Regions from separate parts of the Homo sapiens genome. Here regions 1 and 3 are each linked to region 2. The links are contacts of gene promoters, found by promoter capture Hi-C in human tissues and cell types (Jung and others, 2019). All regions are on one chromosome and are shown on one strand. The core of a region is centred on a gene start or on the middle of the fragment in contact, and the rest is flanking DNA. Distances in the headings are between cores, read along the strand shown. Region 1 has its middle 100 kb from the start of ANAPC4. Region 2 holds the start of SLC34A2 (solute carrier family 34 member 2). Region 3 has its middle 120 kb from the start of ANAPC4.

The links. The method cuts DNA at HindIII sites, captures the fragments that hold promoters and counts their contacts. A contact is called where the count stands out against the background at its distance.
Region 1: a fragment that was not itself captured here is called in contact with the fragment with the promoter of SLC34A2 in region 2 in 3 of the 25 tissues and cell types used here (H1 embryonic stem cells, aorta and small bowel).
Region 3: a fragment that was not itself captured here is called in contact with the fragment with the promoter of SLC34A2 in region 2 in 1 of the 25 tissues and cell types used here (IMR-90 fibroblasts).

Annotation. Positions count from the first base shown.
Region 1 is chr4:25,476,109-25,478,808 of GRCh38, forward strand. No RefSeq gene overlaps it. Among named protein-coding and RNA genes, the nearest start is that of ANAPC4, 100 kb to the left of the region's middle. The HindIII fragment of the contact is 4,875 bases long and covers 1-2,700 here.
Region 2 is chr4:25,654,462-25,657,161 of GRCh38, forward strand. SLC34A2 (solute carrier family 34 member 2) reads left to right here and starts at 1,390. Exons shown (of 13, transcript NM_006424.3): 1 at 1,390-1,429. RefSeq lists an enhancer at 840-1,753. The HindIII fragment of the contact is 21,396 bases long and covers 1-2,700 here.
Region 3 is chr4:25,499,856-25,502,555 of GRCh38, forward strand. No RefSeq gene overlaps it. Among named protein-coding and RNA genes, the nearest start is that of ANAPC4, 120 kb to the left of the region's middle. The HindIII fragment of the contact is 7,490 bases long and covers 1-2,700 here.

The DNA.
Region 1 (2,700 bases), core at 131-2,630, 180 kb before region 2:
TAATAATATGAACAACTCTTACCAAACAATAGTTTTGGCAGCATTTCTGGTGCTGTCTAGTCATCCATCCTTTTACAAGTATAAAAATAAGATAAAATGTCCTAGAGCCAATCCTAGCTTAAATTTGTCAGTATTTTTATATGTTATTAAGCTTTTTCCTCCAAATTTTGTAACTGAAATTCTGTTCATCTTTGCATACTTGATGGCATCTATGTCAATATTGATTGACTATTTATGAGTAGAATTCTGAAACCTAATTTAAAATTTAGTTTGCCCTTTTTTTTTTAAAAAAAAGTATTGCCTTCTGAGTAAATGATGGTAGTAACATGAAGTATAGTTTAAAACTATAGTATCGCATTGGTTGTTAAGTATAAATAAATAAAATCTAACCAAATTCGTCTAAAACAGACTGAACTCTATCTTTTCATCAAACCAACATTTTTGTAAGAGCAATTTCACTTTGTGTTTTAGAGTAGACATTTTTGGAAATCCTTGAATAAAAAGCTCTTATTAAATCTCCCTGGAATAGCTCATAACCAAAGAGGAAGAAAAAAATAGCTTATGGTGTGATATATTTAGGATTTATATATTTAACTACTTATTTGTCTGTGAAGAAGTCTTCCTGACTAAAGATGGCTTTCAGATAAATTTTAATTTCTCTATGAGTCTTTTGCTATTCCTATAATTCATGCCTTTTTGTTAGAAACTAATATAGGTTTTGTGTGATTTTTTTTTTCAATGAGCAAAAATAAGTTAAATAAGTAAGTAAGTGAACAAATAAACAGGTAGTTTAAAGCAAAGGAAGGGCCCAGCGTGATGACTCACGCCTGTAATCCCAGCACTTTAGGAGACTGAGGCGGGCAGATCACCTGAGGTGAGGAGTTCAAGACCAGCCTAGCCAACATGGTGAAACCCCGTCTCTACTAAACATGCAAGAAATTAGCCGGGTGTGGTGGTGGGCGCCTGTAATCCCAGCTACTTGGGAGGCTGAAGCACAAGAATCGCTTGAACCTGGGAGGCGGATGTTGCAGTGAGCTGAGATCGTGCCATTGCACGCCAGCCTGGGGCAACAAGAATGAAACTCCATCTCAAAAGAATAAAAAAAGAAAAATAAAGCAAAGGAAGTATAAACGGTTCTTAAATTGATGGAAATATGCCCAACTTTACTCATAATAAGAAAAATAAACTAAAATGACATTGAGCTAACATTTTTATCTCTGAGATTGGCAGGATGTCACAAATTTGGTAACACACTCTGTTGGTGAAGCTGTGGGGAGACACATGCTCTAACACATTGCTTTTGGATGGCTAAACAGCATCCATCCTGTGGGGCCATGTGGGAATATGATGCTTTTGCTTGACTCACCACTTCTACCCCTGGGGAATTTATCTGCAGATACTTGTGTATGTGTACAAAAATGTGCACACAAAGTCATTCACTGTGGCACTGTTTAAGCTTCAAAATATTGGAAACAACAAAATTGTCAATTAGAATATTGCTAAATAAATGATGGTTTACTCATACAATTAAATGTTATGTGGCTGAAAAAAAGAATGAGGACACTATGTAATAATTTGGAAAAAATTCTAAAATATATTACTAAGTGAAAAAACAAAGTAGGGAAGAATGTTTCAGAAAAGGCTAACTTTTGGGTAAGAAAATGGGAGAAATAAGAATATATATTTGCCCAGCGTGGTGGCTCGTGCCTGCAATCCCAGCACTTTGGGAGGCCGAGGTGGGCGGATCACCTGAGTTCGGGAGTTCAAGACCAGCCTGGCCAACATGGTGACACCCTGTTTGTACTAAAAATACAAAAATTAGCTGGGCATGGTGTTGGGTGCTTGTAATCCCAGCTATTCAAGAGGCTGAGGCAGGAGAATTGCTTGAACCCTAGAGGTGGATATTGCAGTGCACCAAGATCATGTCACTGCACTCCAACCTGGGTGACAAGAGCAAGACACTGTCTCAAAAAAAAAAAAAAGAATATATATTTACATTTGATTGTGTATGTGTATACACACACACACACACACACACACACGCAAACAAATGGAAAAACATTCCATGCTTATGGATAGGAAGAATCAATATTGTTAAAATGGCTATACTGCCCAAGGCAATTTACAGATTCAATGCTATTTCTATCAAACTACCAATGACATATTTCTCAGAATTAGAAAAAACTATTCTAAATTTCATACGGAACCAAAAACGGAGCCTGAACAGCCAAAGTAATCCTATGCAGAAAGAACATAGCTGGAGGCATCACATTGCCCAACTTCAAACTCTACAACAAGGCTACAATAACCAAAACAGCATGGTAGTGGAACAAAAGCAGATACATAGACCAATGGAACAGAATAGAGAGCCCAGAAATAAAGCCACACACCTACAATCATCTGATCTTTGACAGCGTTGACAAATACAAGCAATGGGGAAAGGACTCACTATTCAATAAATGGTGCTGAGATAACTGGCTAGCCACATGCAGAAGATTGAAATTGGGCCCCTTCCTTACACGATATACAGAAAGCAACTCAAGATGGATTAAAGACTTAAATGTAAAATGTAAAACTATAACAACCTTTGAAGAAAACCTAGGAAATACCATTCTGGACATAGGCCCTGGCAAAGGTTTCATGATGAAGATGCCAAAAGCAATTGCAACCAAAACAAAAATTGACAAATGGGACCTAATT
Region 2 (2,700 bases), core at 140-2,639:
ACCCATCTTCTCCCAACACCAGAGTTTCCCTGTGAAAACGATCATGGTTAACTCGCACTGAATACTATTTATGTGCCAAGTACCATTCCACATTCTTTACATATTTTAGCTCACTTTACTCCAACGGGGACCATTATTCCCAGTTTGCACATAAGCAAATGGAGCCAGGGAAAGCAAGGGGCAGAACAGGGAACTGATTTCCCGGAGTTTCGGCCCAGAGTCAGTGTGCTTAGCCACCGCCAACACCAGCCCCAGAGCTCTAGGCTCCTGGAAGTCGTGCTCCCGAGTCCTTCCCCTTGCACAGTGGAGAGAACTCGATGTTGGAATGAAACCAGCTAATTCCAGTAGGGTGCTTCCGCTGTTGTGAGGAGCTGGGCAACTAGTAAGCTCACTGAGCCTCACTGTGCTCCACTATAAAACCAGGAGAGTGCGCAGCAGAGGAGAGGGTCTGGGTTTCAGAATAAGAAGCAGGTTTTCTTCCTGCTCAGCAAATCCTGGGTAATTGTATCATATCCCCTAACCCCTTAAACCTCAGCTAGAGAGGGCGCCAGTCTTAGCCCCAGGGAAGGCTTTCGTGTGCACATTGGAGACAAAGCCTGCCCAGCAGTGCCCGGCACAGAACTGGGGAGCTGTTGGGATAAGCATGGGGGTGGACTCTCCCTGGGACAGATCCTATCTCACAGCAGTTTGGAGAACTGTTGTATACACACGCAGGTGACACGAGGCAGAGCAGGATGTGAAACGAGCGCAGTGGTTTGCCAAACCCGCAGCAGGCTTAGGACGGAGTGGTGAGAACAGCCCCCTTCCTTTTCCTCAGCTTGACGGTCCCAGCCTTTCCCATTGCGGACCTAGAGCCCAGACTCCCAGGGCAGAAAGCGCCCCACAGACTGATAAAGGTGAACAATCCAGGCTTTGTTTCCAAGGGCTTTATCCCTGACTTTCCAACTGGCTTTTATCTGTGTCTTCACGTCTCTGACCTCTTGAGCCTCACAGGAGCTAGACTAGAAGGTTCAAGTTCTTGAGGAGAAGGCAGGGGCGGGAGAGCCCCACTTGCGGGAATCTCGTGCGGACCGAGTCGGGGCGGGAGAGGGCGCGCACCAGCCAGGCTAGGGCGCGCGGGGCGCCGAGGGGCGCGGGGCCGTTTGGGGCCGTTCGGGCCAGTTCGCGCGGCGGGGCCCGTCGGAGCTTTTCTCTCGGCAGCCTGGCTGGCCGCGCGTCTTCTCCGCGCAGCGGGCGAAGTCGCGATGGGTTCATTAAGGCGGCAGGTAGGCAGTGCCCCGGCGGCGGCTGCGGCAGGCGGTCCTGGAATGTGCGAGGGGCGTGATGACAGCGGCCAGCCTCTTTGCGCAACACCTTCGCCATATATACCCGGGGCGCTGCGCTCCACCTGGCCGCCGCCTCCAGCCCAGCACCTGCGGAGGGAGCGCTGGTGAGTACCGCCGCCGGGGCAGGGGCGCTTCCTCGCTCTTTCAAGGACTTTGATTCACTTAATTCTTGCAAATACCTCTCGGTGCTGACTTCAAGGAACTTGGCTGGCTTTGGGCCGCAGAAGTGAAAAACACAAAGCTCTCCACAATGTTCAAGTTGTTTTCTTCTTAATGTTACGGTTATTGCTTTTATTACAGCTTTTGCTGCTACACTCTTACGATCGACAGTGTTATTAATCAGCCACACTTGTGGATTCTAAAATGATCACTGTTTTGAGAGTCGTGGTTTGGAAGAGGAAAGGCCCAGGGGATAGAAATCTCCACCTAGGAATCAGGATAGCTAGGCTCTTTGTGGCTGGGTCACCAACTAGCCATGTGACAACGCTAGTCCCTGTGAGCCCCTGGGCTGCCGTCTTCCATTCTTTATAAGAAGGGGAATGCGACATCTCAGGACCATGAAAATTCTAGGTTTGTGGTGGCTGCCTGGTGATGTGACACTGCCCCCCACCCAAGTGTGACTTCCACGTGGTACAGTGCTTGTTTGCAGTTATTTAAGGTGCCTAGGAGACAGTCTTAGTTTGTTTCTATTAGGGCCCGTGGCCATCAGCGAAGGGTCCGTCCTTCAGCCGTCTTGGGGAGCAAAGCCCGCAATTTATGTTTTCCAAGCCACAAATGGGTGAGCAGGCTGGGGAGATAACTTACAAGGAGATGTGCACAGGAGTGGTTGGGTTCGGGGACTGCGCATCCTCAGGCCAGAAAGTTGGGGGCTGCATGGCATGGAGTTAGTTCAGGTTCCCTGCAACGGTGCCTGCCACCGGTGGCTCGCACTGCGCTGAAGAGAGTTGGAATCTCGTTTTCTTTGAGGAGGTCCCTTTTTCAAACATGTTGATTTCATGGAAGCAGCTTGTGGATTTCATCACTCGAGTCCCCTCTTCCTGTTTGGGTGCCCCAGGGGGTTTCTGTGTTAGCCCTGATCGCTCTGGGCCTTGTCGTTCTTTCCTTTTTCCTTCTTCCCTTGTGTGCTGGCAGTTCTTTAACTTGTCCTGGGTTGGGTATTCTTGGAAAACTGTGCTTGTAGGAGTGGCCGTTGTTTCAGATTGTTAAAGAAAAACAAAAATAAAAAAGATTGCCTCTTTTGTCCCATGCCCGCTGATCATGATCTTCTCTGCTTTTGTAATTTGGGGAATGGGTGATAAGAAAGGCGTGCTTTGTAAAAGGTTTGGATGCTAAACAAATTGCCCCATCCAAAACTCCCCAAATTGCTCAACTGTCT
Region 3 (2,700 bases), core at 97-2,596, 150 kb before region 2:
TGGAGTTCGAATCCCAGTTCTGCCACCTGTCTACTATGTGATCTTAGAGGGATAGCTTGACCTTTCTGTGCCTGGAAAGTAGAATTAATAATACCTACCTCATAGAGTTGTGGGGGTTCAATGAAATGATATATGTAAGCTATTAGAATGTTGCCTGACATAGAATAAAAACTCATTGACATTACTTATTATGATGATTGTTGTGCAGCAAAATAGGTACCTTATAAAATACTTTAAAATTATAAATTTAAGATTAAGATAGGCGGTAATCCCAGCACTTTGAGGGGGCTGAGACAGGTGGATCACTTGAGGCCAGGAGTTCAAGACCTGCCTGGCTAACATGGTGAAACCCCATCTCCACCAAAAAAATACAAAAAAATTAGCCAGGCATGGTGGCATGTGCCTGTAATCCCAGCTACTCGGGAGGCTGAGGCAGGAGAATTGCTTGAACCCAGGAGGAGGAGGTTGCAGTGAGCCAAGATCGTGCCACTGCACTCCAGCCTGGGTGACAGAGTAAGACCCTGTCTGAAAACAAACAAACAAAAAAAAGCACAAACAAACAAAAAGAGATCAAGATTACAGAGGTTCTGTTATGTCCCTTCACCTTCATGAATTGTCTTGTGATGTCTGGGGTGCATTCACCCCCACTTTGGAAACTGCTGGCTTAAGCAATGATAGAAACATACTATGTCCCTGGGTATTCTGATTCTTGAGATGCTCTGTAAAGCTTGGAGGACTGTGGGTGGGTGGATTCTTCCACGCTTGGATTATGCACACTCTCATTTCTACACAAACCTCTTGGCTTCTCTGCTTGTAAACAGTAATCAGGTCAGGCTGAATGTGGGGCCGGTAGTCCCAAGCTCCTGGCCAGTCCTACTCAGTCATTCCTAAGGATGGAGGCTGCACGGGCTCTGCCTCTTACCTTGCACCTGCCACCCTGTGCTTAAGCAACTCCCGCACAGCTTAACTCCTGGAGACAGTGGCCGGTGGGGACAGCTGCATGTCAGTCTGTGCTGTGAAACCAGTCATCCTTGTAACCAAATGTGAGAGCGGCAGATTAAAGCAGAATTACCTAAAGAGGTTTGTAGGACACACACTGACTGAGTCCCCTGCTGCCAGCAGCTGCTCTTCTTGACATGGGGCCAACCCAGAAACTTTGCAGGATGCTCTCAGATGCTCCAGCAGCCAGAGAGGTGATGATGGCCCTGGAACTGCTGAGAGCAGCTGGTTTCATCAGGGCTGGCTGAATGTCTGGATCAACAGCGAAATCTCTGACTCTGTGCCAGGGAGTGGGCTCGTGGGCACTGCGTTGACAACTGTGACTAGTAAACCCAGCGGGAACCAGGTCTAATTACAGTAGAGCTACAGAAATTGCCCCCACATTCCAGCTGTTTAAGTCAGATAATTTTAGGGTTGAGAAAGACCCTAGAGATCACCTAATGGATCCCAAACCTAGTTGCTTACAGCATCAATGAGAAGCCTTAAAATTTTTATAGTGAATTAGCTCAGTCATATAAAACAGTGGAGGGGCTGAGTCACCACATCATCCTGTGTTCCACTTAGCTTAAGAAATGGAGGCCAGGCGAGGTGGCTCCCACCTGTAATCCCAGCACTTTGGGAGGCTGAGACAGGCAGATCACTTGAGTTTGGGACCAGCGTGGCCAATATGGTGAGACCCCATCTCTACTAAAAATACAAAAATTAGCCAGGCGTCGTGGTGCGTGCCTGTAATCCCAGCTAGTCAGGAGACTGAGGCAGGAGAACCACTTGAACCTGGGAGGCGGAGGTTGCAGTCAGCCGAGATGGCACCACTGCACTCCAGCCTGGGTGACGAAGTGAGACACATCTCAAAAAAAAAAAAAAAAAAAAGTTCCCCAAGCATTCCCAGTGACCCAGTGATGAGCCAGGATTGGTGAATAACCGCTCTCACTGGGGCTTGCCTGAGTGGACTGAGCACCTGTGTTGAAGTTAAAAGACCTGAGGTCCCATCCTGGTGGTGCCACCTCCCTCCTGTGTGACACCTGGCAAGGGGCATATTCCCCAAAACCTCAATTTCTTCATCTGTAAAAAGGGGATAAGGACAATAAACTTCCTTTCGAGCTCATGCATGTATATGAAGCTCTAAAACACTACACAGACATAGGACTTAAGGGCTCATGCAGCCTAGGGTTGGTCACCTCCAGTGACAGGAGGCTCATTACTTTCAGAGACAGCCTCCCCCCACCCTTTTTTCTGAAAGCTCTGATGGACAAAACGTCCTTCCTTATTCTGAGTAGAAATCTGTTCCCTGTCATTTTCTCCTATTGGATTTAATTCCACCCCTCAGGGAACCACAGAATAAACTTAATCCTTAATTTGCAGACCAGTTTTTTGAATAATCGAAGACAATATAGCCCTTTGGCTTTCCTTCTCTACCTCAATTCTAGGCTTCTCCACACACTGTACTGAGAAAGTCCCTTTATGAATAAGCAATATTTCCAGAAATTACCATAGGCATGGCTACATTTCAGCAAACCGGAGAGGCTGTGTTCCTGGATTAGTGATTCAGGAAAATCCATTTAGCCTCTAGTTAATTAAATCGCCCAGTCACATCAAGTCGTCTTGTTAAATTAATCACCTGTGCTATGGGATCTACTTATTAAAGTATTTGCTTAGTAAGTGTATAACATCTATGCAACCCTTTTATGTGCCAGGCACTGC